Regions from separate parts of the Homo sapiens genome. Here all the other regions are linked to region 3. The links are contacts of gene promoters, found by promoter capture Hi-C in human tissues and cell types (Jung and others, 2019). All regions are on one chromosome and are shown on one strand. The core of a region is centred on a gene start or on the middle of the fragment in contact, and the rest is flanking DNA. Distances in the headings are between cores, read along the strand shown.

What was found. Contacts are between HindIII fragments. The study calls those that stand out against the background at their distance.
Region 1: a contact is called between a fragment that was not itself captured here and the fragment with the promoter of HSBP1L1 in region 3, in 2 of the 25 tissues and cell types used here (IMR-90 fibroblasts and spleen).
Region 2: a contact is called between a fragment that was not itself captured here and the fragment with the promoter of HSBP1L1 in region 3, in 2 of the 25 tissues and cell types used here (heart left ventricle and lymphoblastoid cells).
Region 4: a fragment that was not itself captured here is called in contact with the fragment with the promoter of HSBP1L1 in region 3 in 2 of the 25 tissues and cell types used here (IMR-90 fibroblasts and lymphoblastoid cells).

The regions. Positions count from the first base shown.
Region 1 is chr18:79,498,263-79,501,269 of GRCh38, reverse strand. The region is part of intron 9 of NFATC1 (nuclear factor of activated T cells 1); the gene reads right to left. Among named protein-coding and RNA genes, the nearest start is that of NFATC1, 100 kb to the right of the region's middle. The HindIII fragment of the contact is 8,968 bases long and covers 1-3,007 here.
Region 2 is chr18:79,466,784-79,469,836 of GRCh38, reverse strand. It overlaps NFATC1 (nuclear factor of activated T cells 1), which reads right to left. Exons shown (of 10, transcript NM_001278669.2): 8 at 2,255-2,387. LOC107985162 (a long non-coding RNA gene) reads left to right here. Exons shown (of 2, transcript XR_001753518.2): 2 at 1-518. Among named protein-coding and RNA genes, the nearest start is that of NFATC1, 72 kb to the right of the region's middle. The HindIII fragment of the contact is 4,601 bases long and covers 1-3,053 here.
Region 3 is chr18:79,962,779-79,965,892 of GRCh38, reverse strand. HSBP1L1 (heat shock factor binding protein 1 like 1) reads right to left here and starts at 1,250. Exons shown (of 4, transcript NM_001136180.2): 1 at 1,107-1,250. The coding sequence starts at 1,157. RefSeq lists a silencer at 1,024-1,593 and an enhancer at 2,689-2,768. The HindIII fragment of the contact is 12,330 bases long and covers 1-3,114 here.
Region 4 is chr18:80,249,651-80,252,447 of GRCh38, reverse strand. No RefSeq gene overlaps it. Among named protein-coding and RNA genes, the nearest start is that of PARD6G, 3.5 kb to the right of the region's middle. The HindIII fragment of the contact is 3,076 bases long and covers 1-2,797 here.

The DNA.
Region 1 (3,007 bases), core at 372-2,871, 460 kb after region 3:
TTGTTAAATGCTTTTTTTCTTGCATTTATTGAAATGATCACGTGGTTTCTGTCCTTTTTCTATTAATATGGTACATCACATGACTTCATTTTCTGATGCTAAACCAACCTTGCATTACTGGGATAAATCCCACTTGGTCATGGTGTAAAATCTTTTTTTTATGTTGTTGGATTCAGTTTGATAATATTTTGTTGTGGATTTTTGCTCCTGTGTTCATAAAGAATATTTTTCTATAGTTTTTCTTACGATACTTTTGATTTTGGTATTAGGGCTATACTGGCTTCAGTATTAGAAGTGTTCCTTCTTCATTTTCTGAAGAGTTTGTGGAGTATTGGCACTGGTATTATTCTTGTAATGTTTAATAAAATTAACCAGTAAAGCTCTCTGGGTCTGGGCTTTTCTTTGTGAGAATATGTTAAATTATTAATTTCTTTTATTTCCCTGCTATAGGTCTATTATACTTTTCTGTTTCTTCCTGAGTCAGTTTAGGTAATTCGTGTCTAAGAATGTTTCCATTTCATCCAGGTTGTTTAATCTGTTGGCATAAGGTTATAGTATTCCCTTATAACCTTTTGATTTTTGCAGGGTCAGTAGCAATGTCCCCTCTTTCATTCCTAATTTTTCTTGTTAGAAAAACTCATTAAAGTTTTGTCAATTTTGTTGTTTTTTCAAATAACTAACTTTGGTTTTATTGATTTTTCTCATGTTTCTATTTCATTGCTTTTTCTTCTCATCCTCAGCATTTCCTTTTTTCCACTTGCCTTGGGTTTTTTCTCTCCTTTTTCAACATTTTTAAGGAAAAAGCTTAGATTATTGATTTGAAATCCATCTTATTCCTCATATAGGCATTTAAAGCTATAAATTTCCCTCTAAGCACTGCCTTACCTGCATCCCACAAATTTTGATATGTTGTGTTTTCATTTGCATTTAGTTCAAAATATTTTCCAATTTCCCTTATACTTTCTAACTTCACTCATTAATTATTTAGAAATGTGTTGTTTAGTTTCCAAATATTTGTGGAAATATCTGTTGTTGATTTTCAATTGATATCCATTGCAATCAGAATATTTTGAAATTTATTAAGGCTTGTTTTATGGCATAGTAGGAAGTCTATCCTATGTGCACTCTGTAGAGTGTCCTACAGATGTCTTGTAAAGTTGGTTGATAGTCTTAAGTGTTTTATATCCTTTTGATTTTCTGTCTAGTTGTTCTATCCATTAAGAGTGATATACTGGTCTCCAGCTATTATTTTTCAACTATGTATTTCTCCCTTTAATTCTGTCAGTTCTTGTTTCATGTATTATGGGGCTCTGTTATGTGCAAATGTGTTTATATCTTCCTGTTCAATGTATCAGGTTTAAGATCAAAGAGAACATGACTACTGACAGTTCATTGTTTCTAGTAATATTTTTATCTTAGAGTTTAATTTGTCTGATATTAGTGTAGCTACTCCAAATTTCTACATTAACTCTGCCTATCTTTTTCATCCTTTCACTTTCAACCTATTTGTGTCTTTAAATCTGAAGTATGTATTTTTTCCATTATCTCCATATCTCTTTTGATTACTATTGCACAGTATCTCTTTATCATTTTACTTTCAACCTATTTGTGTCTTTAAATCTAAAATATGTATTTTTTAGACAGCATATGGTTGTACCCTGTTTCATTCTGTCTTTAACATCCAGTCTGACAACATCTACCTTTTTATTGGGGTGTTTATTCCACTGACATTTAATGTGATTATTGATACGGTAGGATTATGTTTTCCATTTTGCTATTTGTTCTCTACATGTCTTGTGTAACTTTTGCTGTTGTCATTGTTTCTATGTTCCTTCATTACTGGCTTATTTTGTGTTACACACATATTTTCTAGTGTATCATTTAAGTGCATTTTTTGACATTTTATGTGTGTGTGTGACACACTCACACACATATATATTTTCTTAGTGGTTCCTCTGGAGATTACAACAAGCATCTTAGTCAAAACAGTCTATTTCAGATGAATACTGAGTTCTAATAATATGTAAAGACTTTGCTTTGCTGTAACTTCCTTCCCCACCCCTTCCTTTGTGCTACTGTCACACAAATTGTTATAAGCACATTGTTATCAGCACAGGTTTGCAATCGTGTCTTATGCAGTTTCCTTTTACATCAGTTCAGAGAAGAAAAGTTTAAAACATGTTTGTGCTGTCTTTTTAATTCACCTATGTAATTACTCTCACCAGTGCTTCTTACCTCAGCCTGAAGGACTCCCTTTAATATGTCCTGTAGGTCAGGTCTGTTGGCAACAAATTCTGTGTGTCTTGTTTATCTGAGCACAGCTTTGTTTCTTCATCTCTAAAGATGAGTTTTACTAGATATAGAATTCTTGGTTGACAGTGGTTTTCTTTCAGCATTTTGAATGCGCCGTCCCACTGTCCTCCGACATCCACGATTCACAATAAGCAGCTGGCTGTTAATCCTGCTGAGCATCCCACGTACTGAGAAGCTGTTTTCCTCTCACTGCTTTCGGGATTGTCTCTCCCTTTGACTTTCAACAGTTTGGTTTATGTCTGTGTGTGAGCTGCTTTTAATTTATCCCATTTGAATTTTGTGAACCATTTGGATGCACTGAATAATGTTTTCCATCAAATTTAGGAAGTTTGGGGCCATTATTTCTTCACGTATTTCTTCTAATCATCTCTTTCTATAACTCATTATGCATGTGTATATGTGTTTACAGCATCTCACATGCTCTGAGGCTTTGTTCATTTTTATTGATTCTTTCTTCTTTCTGTTCCTCAGTCTAAATAATCTGTTGATTTTTACGTTTGATTCTTTTTCTCTGCCAGCTCAAATCTGTTGTTCAGCCTCTCTAATGCATTTTTCATTTACTTTTCAACTGTGTAATTTCTATTTGGCTTCTTTTTTTTTTTTTTTAAAAATCTCATTATGGATATTCTCTATCTGGTAAGATATATTTGCCACACTCCCCTGTAATTTTTTAAATACAATTTCTTTCAGTTCT
Region 2 (3,053 bases), core at 404-2,903, 500 kb after region 3:
GGAGCCCCTGGGGGCTGGTGGGGCTGGTCAGTGTGCTTGTGGGGACCTGGGATGGTCACCCAGGGACTATGGTGCTACGTCCAGGAGAGAAGAGACGACGGAGGCAAAGAGAGGGAGAACGGGCGAAGGCTGGTGCCCAGGGTGAGCCTGGGGAACCTGGCCTGCGTTGAGCCATGCTGGAGCAGATGGGGGGTGGAGGGTGCAGCCGAGACACTGGGCAGGGGGTGCAGGAGAGATGTCCACGCTGGGCACAATGCTGAGAGGGGAGCCGGGGCCAATCGAGGCAGGAGTGTGGCTGGTAGGACAGGACGGCCGGCTGCCAGGTGGGGTGTGGACTGGAGGTAGCAGGAGCGGCTCAGCCCCACCGGCTTCATGCTGTGGCCACGGTCCTGGGGGCCGCCACCTCCCACCTGTGAAGGGCAGGCACGCTCCCCGCACGCCCCTTCTGCCTCTGAGATACGTGATCTGTGCTAAAGTCAGTGCTGCTCAAACCCACGGTGGGGACTGCCGCATGCTGAGCAAATAAGAAAAAAATTAATGCACTGCTCTGGAAAGCAATCCTTCTCTATAAGGCCTAGGTTTTCTTTAAAACATTCAATTTCTGGTCAACCATGCTTGAAGTTTAATTAGGACTCAATCATTATATTTTCAGAAAAAGATAAAATATTTTCTTCTGTAAGATATATTGTACTTTGTTCCAAGAATGGGCTGGACTCACTAAGTGTGGGCGGCACAGACCACGTAAACCCCAGGGGGGTCCAGAGCGTGAGGCCCTTCCCCACAATCCCGGGGGTCCCAGAGCGTGAGGCTCTTCCCCACAATCCCGGGGGTCCCAGAGCGTGAGGCTCTTCCCCACAATCCTGGGGGTCCCAGAGCGTGAGGCCCTTCCCCACAATCCCGGGGGTCCCAGAGCATGAGGCTCTTCCCCACAATCCCGGGGGTCCCAGAGCATGAGGCCCTCCCCACAATCCTGGGGGTCACAGAGCGTGAGGCTCTTCCCCGCGAGGGCTGGGCTGGGGGCTGCACATCACCCCTGCAGCTCTGTCTCACAGACACTCTTAGGGTACAGCGACTTTACAGCAAAACCCCATTTTCCACATCTTGAGAGGCCTTTCCAGAGCTTGCCTGATAAAAACAAGGAGTCCCAACAGTTTGGTGTGAACGTGGGGATTCAAGGGCTTCCTTAGGATCTGGTCTATTACAAATGCTGTTTACATTCAGAGAAAATGGAAACCTTCCAAAACACCCTGATTTTACTAAGAGAACGCAGCTGCTTTTGCAATTAGCGCCCAGTGTGTAATTTCCCTCTCAGATGACAGGAATCTCTGCAGTTTTTAGAAAAAAAGCAATATAAAAAGATTATTGATGTTAGCTAAGCTTACCCAAAATACAGTAAAATTCAGGATGACCGCTAACTGTCCCCTCCGAGCTGTGGGGAGTGGCCTGTACCCACAAAATACAGTAAAATTCAGGATGACTGCTAATTCTGTCCTCTCCGAGCTGGGGGGAGTGGCCTGTACCCACAAAGGAAGCCGGGGATGGCGTGGGGGACGCCTTTCTCTTCTACTGGTTCAGGGACTGAAGAAACAAACTGGATGGTATTTTCTTTAAGAAAACACCCTAAAGGTTAAAAAGGTAAGATGATTTTTTTTTTTTTTTGTATGAGTGAAAAGGAGCCATTCCCACGGCGGGTGAGGGGCAGGCAGGTTGAGGAGAAGGTGCCCCAGCCTGGATGCCCGTGGTCCCAGGAGATGAAGTTACCCCTGGAGAAGTGTCTCGGGGACGTCCGCCCAGCACAAAGCTCATTCACCATCCTTAAAGACCACATCAGGACTACAGGCTTAAAAGCAAAGTTTATTCCTAAAGGTGCCTGCAAAATAGCTATACCTATTTGCCTTTTCACCGTAAGCAGCTTTAGGGTGCAAATGCACACCAGGACCCCCTCAGTTTTTTGGAGCAGAAGAGCCATGTTTTCCCCTTGGCTGTTATACATTCGCAAGAAGCAAAATAACCGTGACTATCTGAGTATGCAACCCCCGCCCCCCACCCCCAACAGGGATCAAGGAAAATGCATCCGAAGCTTCCCTTTTCCTTTCCTTTTCAGGGCATCGATGGCTCGGTCTCACTAACGGGACATCACACAGTTAAATGTGCAACACGCCACGCTGCTTTACGGCGACGTCGTTTCTGCGTCTTTAGAAAAAGCACCCCACGCGCTCATGTTCACGGCTTACGGTTAGAAAGATGGCGTTACCGTTGGCGGGAAGGTAGGTGAAACGCTGGTACTGGCTTCGCTTTCTCTTCCCGTTGCAGACGTAGAAACTGACGTGAACGGGGCTGGTTATCCTCTGATTCCGAAATGGCGGGATCTCAACCACCAGAGAATTCTACAGGAGAAGGGCACACAGGAGGCACAATCAGCACCGGGCAGGCGATGGCTGCCGCGCCACGGCGGCCACACGGCAACCCCGCGTTTCCACGGCGGCCACACGGCAACCCCGCGTTTCCACGGCGGCCACACGGCAACCCCGCGTTTCCACGGCAGCACAGGACTGCCGTGACGGTAAACTCCCAAGCAGCCACCTGGGCGGTCCAGAAGCAGCTGATGACAGCCCTGGATGCTCTGTGCCACCTGCACACGCGTGTGGACACGCACGCTCACAGGGAAGGGGCTGCCCTTGGCTTCTTGCACACCCAGGAGCCGAGAGGCTTCCTCAGAGCAGCACAGCAGACAAGACCAACCTAAGACTGAAATCTTGTCAATATGGGGAAAGAAGCCAGGAAAAGAGAAGCTGTAAACAGAACTGGGACCGGGTGCCTGAGGGTGGAGGTTGCCCGGGGCCACCTGGGCAAGGGGACTGGCGGGGATGCAAAAGGCTCTGCCTGCTCTGATGCCAAAGGGTTGGTGACCTTCAGAAAACGACCCAAGGCTCCGCCGCCAGCCACTGTGTGATGGAAGTGCTCGGTGGCCCAGCACCTGCTCAGGTGACTGCAGCGAAACCCAGAGGAGCAGGTGCTTCCTGGAGACGCGGTCTCTGGGGAGGGCCTGTGTT
Region 3 (3,114 bases), core at 1-2,500:
GACTTCTGACAAAGGTGCTAAGGCCTTTGGATTCAGAGGGAAAGGAAAGTCTTTTCAACAAGCAGCGCGGGAATCATGAGGGCCACGTGCAGACGGGGCAGGGACCCATCCCCCTCCTCACACCACACACCATGAATGCAGGAGATCACACACCTTGGCCCAGAGCCAAGGCCATAAAGCATGCAGAGGAGGATGCAGGAGAAAATCTCGTGACCCTGCGCTCCTCAAGAATTCTTATGAAATTACTTACCAGGTCACACAGAAATACCACCATTGCTACTGAAAGCGTTTCCTGTTTATATACTGCTTTGTAGTTTACAGACTGACGTCCCACACCATTCACGGTGTAATCTACTCCTCACCCTGCGACCGTGTCCAGGGTGAGATGAGAACAGTGAGGCTGAGAAGCACAAAATTCTCCCAGCTGGGGGTTCAAGATCCCAGGGAGCCCCACGTACCATGGTGTGAATCTAGAATCCCGTCGACATAGGAGGAGGCCCCACCTCTGAACCATGCCAGGGCTTTCTACCTTTGTCAGGAAATTTACGTTAGGGTTTGCACAACGCCCAACACATTCCTTCAGATTCCAGGTCTCTTCCTCATAGCCAGTCCTCTTGTGGGCCTGGAACTCTTTGGCAAGTAGGAAGGCCTGGGGAGCGGGAGGATTTCCCGGAAGAGGCCGGAGCCCTGGGCGCTGCGACACTCGTGGGTCCCCTTTCGGGCACCCTTTGGCCCAGTTGTTTCCCCACTGACCCCGACCTCAATGCCCCCCAGTACTGCAGGGCTCCCCCCAGGACCTCAGGCCCCCCGAGGATCGCAGGGTCCCCCAGGACAGCAGGGCTCCCCCCTGCACCTCAGGCCCCCCCAGGACCGCAGGGTCCCCCAGGTCTTCAGGGGCCCCCCCAGGACCACAGGCCTCCCAGGCACTCAGGACTCCTCAGGACCACAGGAGTCCTCAGGATCGCAGGCCCCCCAGGACCTCAGGGCCCCACGAAGACCGCAGGGCACCCCCAGCACCGCAGGCTCCCCCCCCAGGACCTCAAAACCCCCCAGAACCGCAGGGGCGCCCCCATCCAGAGAGAAGCAGGAGTCGGGGAGGGGCTCACCGCGTCCCGCAGCGCGCGCCCGCCGGGGGCTTCAGGGCCCCGCACGTCCATGTGGACCGCTGGCCGGGGGCGTCAGTGGGGGGTCCCGTGGGCCGCGCGGACCCGGCGCGAGGTGGCGACAGCTAAGCTCCGCGATTCCCGTATGGGCCGCCGGGAGGCCTCGGGCGGAGCGCGCTGCGTTCCAGGGCGGAGGCGGGGCCGGAGCGGAGAGGCGGGCGCTGCACCTGCAGGGACGCAATGTCACCGAGCGGCCGCCTCGGAGGACTGGTCCGCGCCCCCAGGCTCTGCGGCTTCCCGAGCCGAGCCGAGCCGAGGCCCCGGGACGGCCTGGGCGGAGCCGCCTTACTCAAGAGGGCCCGTGGGCGCCACCGGCCACCTACACCCCCAAAACGCTCCGCACGGGCAGTGCATGGGCCTCGGTCACCCCTGCTGCGTTTCTCAGAGACGGGGGCTCGCTCTGTGGCCCAGGCTGGGGTGCAGTGGCGACTATGGCTCCCCGCAGCCTCGACTTCCCGGGCCCAAGCGATCCTCCTGCCTCGGCCTGGCCAGTAGCTGGGACCACGGGCGCGCGCCACCAGGTCCGGCTGATCTTTTTTATTTTTTGTAGAGACGGGATCTTACTATGTTGCCCAGGCTGGTCTCGAATTCCTGGGCACAAGTGATCCTCCTGCCTCGGCCTCCCAAAGTGCTGGGACCGCAGGCCTGGGCCACCACGCCGGGCCTTCCCTGGCCTCTTTCACACCTGGGTTGTGGCTCGTCACCTTGTGGGTGACCTCCCAGGACGGTGTTTTAGGGTTACCAGTCTTGTTGCCATGTCTGTGCCCCTGTGCAGCGCTGTGGGAACAGGGCTATGTCTGGTCACCCCAGCATCCCTAGGGCACAGCCCAGTGACCACACCTGGAAGCTCTGGTGTCTCCATGTGCGGATAAATAAAACACAGCCACCCAGCACCACCGCTGTGGCGTGGCGGTTCCCGCCAGGTTACTTCAGGGCGGATGTCTGTGGCCTGAACCCTAAAGGCCAGGCGGTGAGTCCAGGCCACGGTGCCCAGCGAGGAGCAGGTGTCCCTGAGAACCCAAACAGCCCGGAGGGGATGTGAGAACCACCACAGGGAGCAGGCCCATCACACAGACGGCGCAAAGAGGCAGAAAATTAGCTCAAAAGCAGCTTAGGGACAGAAGCACGCTCATCTCTAGAGTTGTCCTGCTGCCCACGAGTGCCCCACATGTGAGTCCTAATAAACTCACCTACTCACCAAGCTGGACTCCGCCCAGTCATTCTTTGGTCTCTCAGCAACTCCCACTTTAGGGTAAGGTTTTAAATGTGATTCTCGGTTTTTCTCATTACAACCAGTCATCAGGAAAACACAAACCAAAACCACAATGAGCTCCCACTGCAACCCACCAGCATGGCTAGAATCAGAGAGACAAACGTAAGTCCGAGAGGCGTGTGGGGATTGTGGCCCCCCCCACGCAGCCGGTGGGCTGTGAAAGGCTGCAGTGCTGTGAAAAAGTCGGGTGGGTCCTCAGAAGTGAAGCAGTTTCCACAGGGCCCAGCCGCGCCACCCCTAGGCATATACCGAAACGACAGCGCGAGTGCACCAAGTCTACTGCAGCATCAGTAATGCTCAAAAGGTGGAAACCACCCAAATGTCCACCCCCAATAAGTAGGTGACAAAATGCAGATGATAGAATATTCCTCAGCCACACAAAGGAGTGAGGCGCTGACGCACGCTACGAAGCAGGCGGGCCTCCGGAACAACGCTGGGTGGCAGAGGCCAGGCGTGAAGACCCTGAGTGGTAAGTCCATGGAGAGTTGGAACAGGCAAGGCCACGGAGACAGAAAGTTGACTTCTGTTGCTGGGGGCTGCAGGGACGAGGGAGAGTGCGGAGAGATTTAGGAGGTCTGGGGTTTCTTTGTGGGGGGACAAAAATGTTCTAAAATTAGATCGTAAGAAGGTTTCACAACCCTGTAAATATACTCAAAACTGTTGAATTATGCCCTTTAA
Region 4 (2,797 bases), core at 47-2,546, 290 kb before region 3:
AATCAGAGACATTATCTTGGAGATGGCCGTAAACTGGACCACCAAGAAACCATGCTGAAATAGACAAGAGGAAAAGCATGCAGTTTCATCTAATAGGAAATCAGTAGGGCCTGCAACTGCTTTGAACCTCTGAAATGCTTTGGGAGTGTGCACGAGGAGATGAATCATGCTGATGAATGGATGCTGTGTGGCTGAAAACTGACCACGCTTTTCTGCCATAAAATCACATTCTGATACATTCACCAAGTCAGTGAAAAGCTTTACGGACTGACTCTTTTTAAAACAGATCCTGAGACTCTAATCCATGCTTAGTGTAATACTTGGAACAAAGACTGTGCTTCATGTTCTAGGTGCTTTTATTTGTATTTTGTAAAAGTGTCCCAGAGTTTTAATGCAAAGTCAGAGACAGCTGCGTAAGGTTTACCACCTGCCTTTTGTCTTCCACCTGGGGGTGGACATGCAGGTCACACCGCAAGCTGGTTGAGGAGAGAGCCCTTTGCACCAATCTAGGGGATGCAACCAGGGCCACTTTGTAGGATGTGGGCAGATGGCTCTGGAATGCAGGGAATTCATTCTATTCTGGCCAACGGTGCCATCTGCTGAAAGAGCTACTGGTAAGTCAATTTAGGCATGAAGCTTCCATTGAGAGTCAAGATATTACTGCATCAAAAAGGCAGAAGAGGCTAGACACAGTGGCTCACACCTATAATCCCAGCACTTTGGGAGGCCGAGGCGAGTGGATCACCTGAGGTCAGGAATTCGAGATCAGCATGGACAACATGGTGAAACCCTGTCTCTACTAAAAATGCAAAATTAGCCGGGCGTCGTGGCACATGACTATAGTCCTAGCTATTTGGGAGGCTGAGGCAGGAGAATCGCTTGAACTCGGAAGGCGGAGGTTTCAGTGGGCCAAGATCGCGCCATTGCACCCCAGCCTGGGCAACAAGAATGAAACTCCATCTCAAAAATGAAAATTTTTAAAAAAGGCAGAAGAGGCCTCTTTGAGCAGGGGAAGAGTAAAGGGTAAAAAGAAGGGATGCCTTTATATGAGAATCAGGTGATAATGAGGCATAACTACTCTGCCATTTCCTTATTTCAATCGAATATCAGTTCTTTGCCTGCCTCATCCGAAAATATATTAGAATGCATTGCAAATGCAACAGCCTGCTGGTTCAAATATTACAGCGATGCTTTCCTATTACCCAACGAAATTATCTTAGAGAATGTTTTCTTAGAACATATACATCAGCAACAAATGTTCAATCATAAAAGAGCCTGCTCTCATCATAAAAGAGCCTGCTCTCATCATAAAAGAACCTGCTCTCATCTTTTTTTCAACAGGGTCTCACTCTGCTATGCCCTGGAGTGCAGTGGCATGATCACAGCTCACCACACACTCGACCTTCCAGTCTCAAGAAATCCTCCCACCTCAGCCTCCCCAGTCTCAAACAATCTGCCCCTCTTGGCCTTCCAAAGTGCTAGGATTACAGGCATGAGCCACTGCAGAGGGGCCTTCCAAAGTGCTAGGATTACAGGCATGAGCCACTGCAGAGGGGCCTTCCAAAGTGCTAGGATTACAGGCTTGAGCTACTGCACCCAGTCAAGGAATACATTTTACTGGGTCCACAACATACTTCCTTTTTGCTCCTGATGGTTCAGTTATTAGATGGGTTCTTAGAAGCCGTGATTTGAGGAAGATTTAACCCCTACCCATTCCTATTTTCTCTCTCATTTTCTGTCTGAAACAAGTCAGCCTCTCAGAGGCTCCCATGACCCCCAGTTGTGTGAAAAGGCAGGCTATCAGGCCAGGATCTGAGGAGTCTTTTCTCTCTCTCCTTTCTTTTCTCTTTCTTTCTTCTTTTCCTTTTCCTCCCCCACTCCCTTCTTTTTGCTTAGATGAGGTCTCTCTCTGTCACCCAGGCTGGAGTGCAGTGGCACAATCATAGCCCACTGCAGCCTCGACCTCCTGGGCTCAAGCAATTCTCCCACCTTGGCCGCCTGAGTAGCTGGGACTATAGGTGTGTCCCACCATGCCCAGCTAATTTTTTTTTTTTTTTGGAGAGACAGGGTTTCACCATGTTGCCTAGGCTAGTCTCAAACTCCTGGCCTCAAGCAATCCTCCAGCCTCAGCCTCCCAGTGTGTTGGGATTACAGGTGTGAGCCACTGTGTCTGGTAGGAGAGGGCTTTTGTTTTTTCCAATCTGGCTGCTGTACTGTGTAAAAGCCTTTCCAGCTGAAGGCTCAGTTAATTTTTTTTTGGTCTATACCCGCCTGAACCTAGAGCTCAAAGCCCTAGCAAATCCAGTTCAAGTCTCAGCTGGAAACTCAAGCTCCACACGCAACAGCAAGCTTTCCCAGCCTTTCCTCCTGCTTTTGCCTGCAGATCATGCCAATCAAGAACTGTGGAGCAACAGATGATTAAGATAAAGGAGCAGCACCTCTCAAACTTCAGTGTGGACATGAATCACCTGGGGATCTTGTTCAAGTGCGGATTCTGATTCAGTGGGTCTGGGTGGGGTATTGCTAACAAGTGCCAGGTGGAGCAGATTTTGGGCCTTACACCACACTCTGAGCCACAGGCATTGACAAAGTGATCTCACTCTCATCAACCTGGTCCAGAGCCAAGTCTAGGGCTACTTGAAATTCCGTAGCCTTCCAGCCTTTCCTTTAAAAGGCGTCTTCCCACTCCAAAGCCCCGAGCTTACTGGGTGGACCCCACTCCCACCTTCATTGCCTACAGTGCTGTTCATTCCTCCACATACTCCTTTGTCCCTGCATTTCTTAAAATGTGACAGTT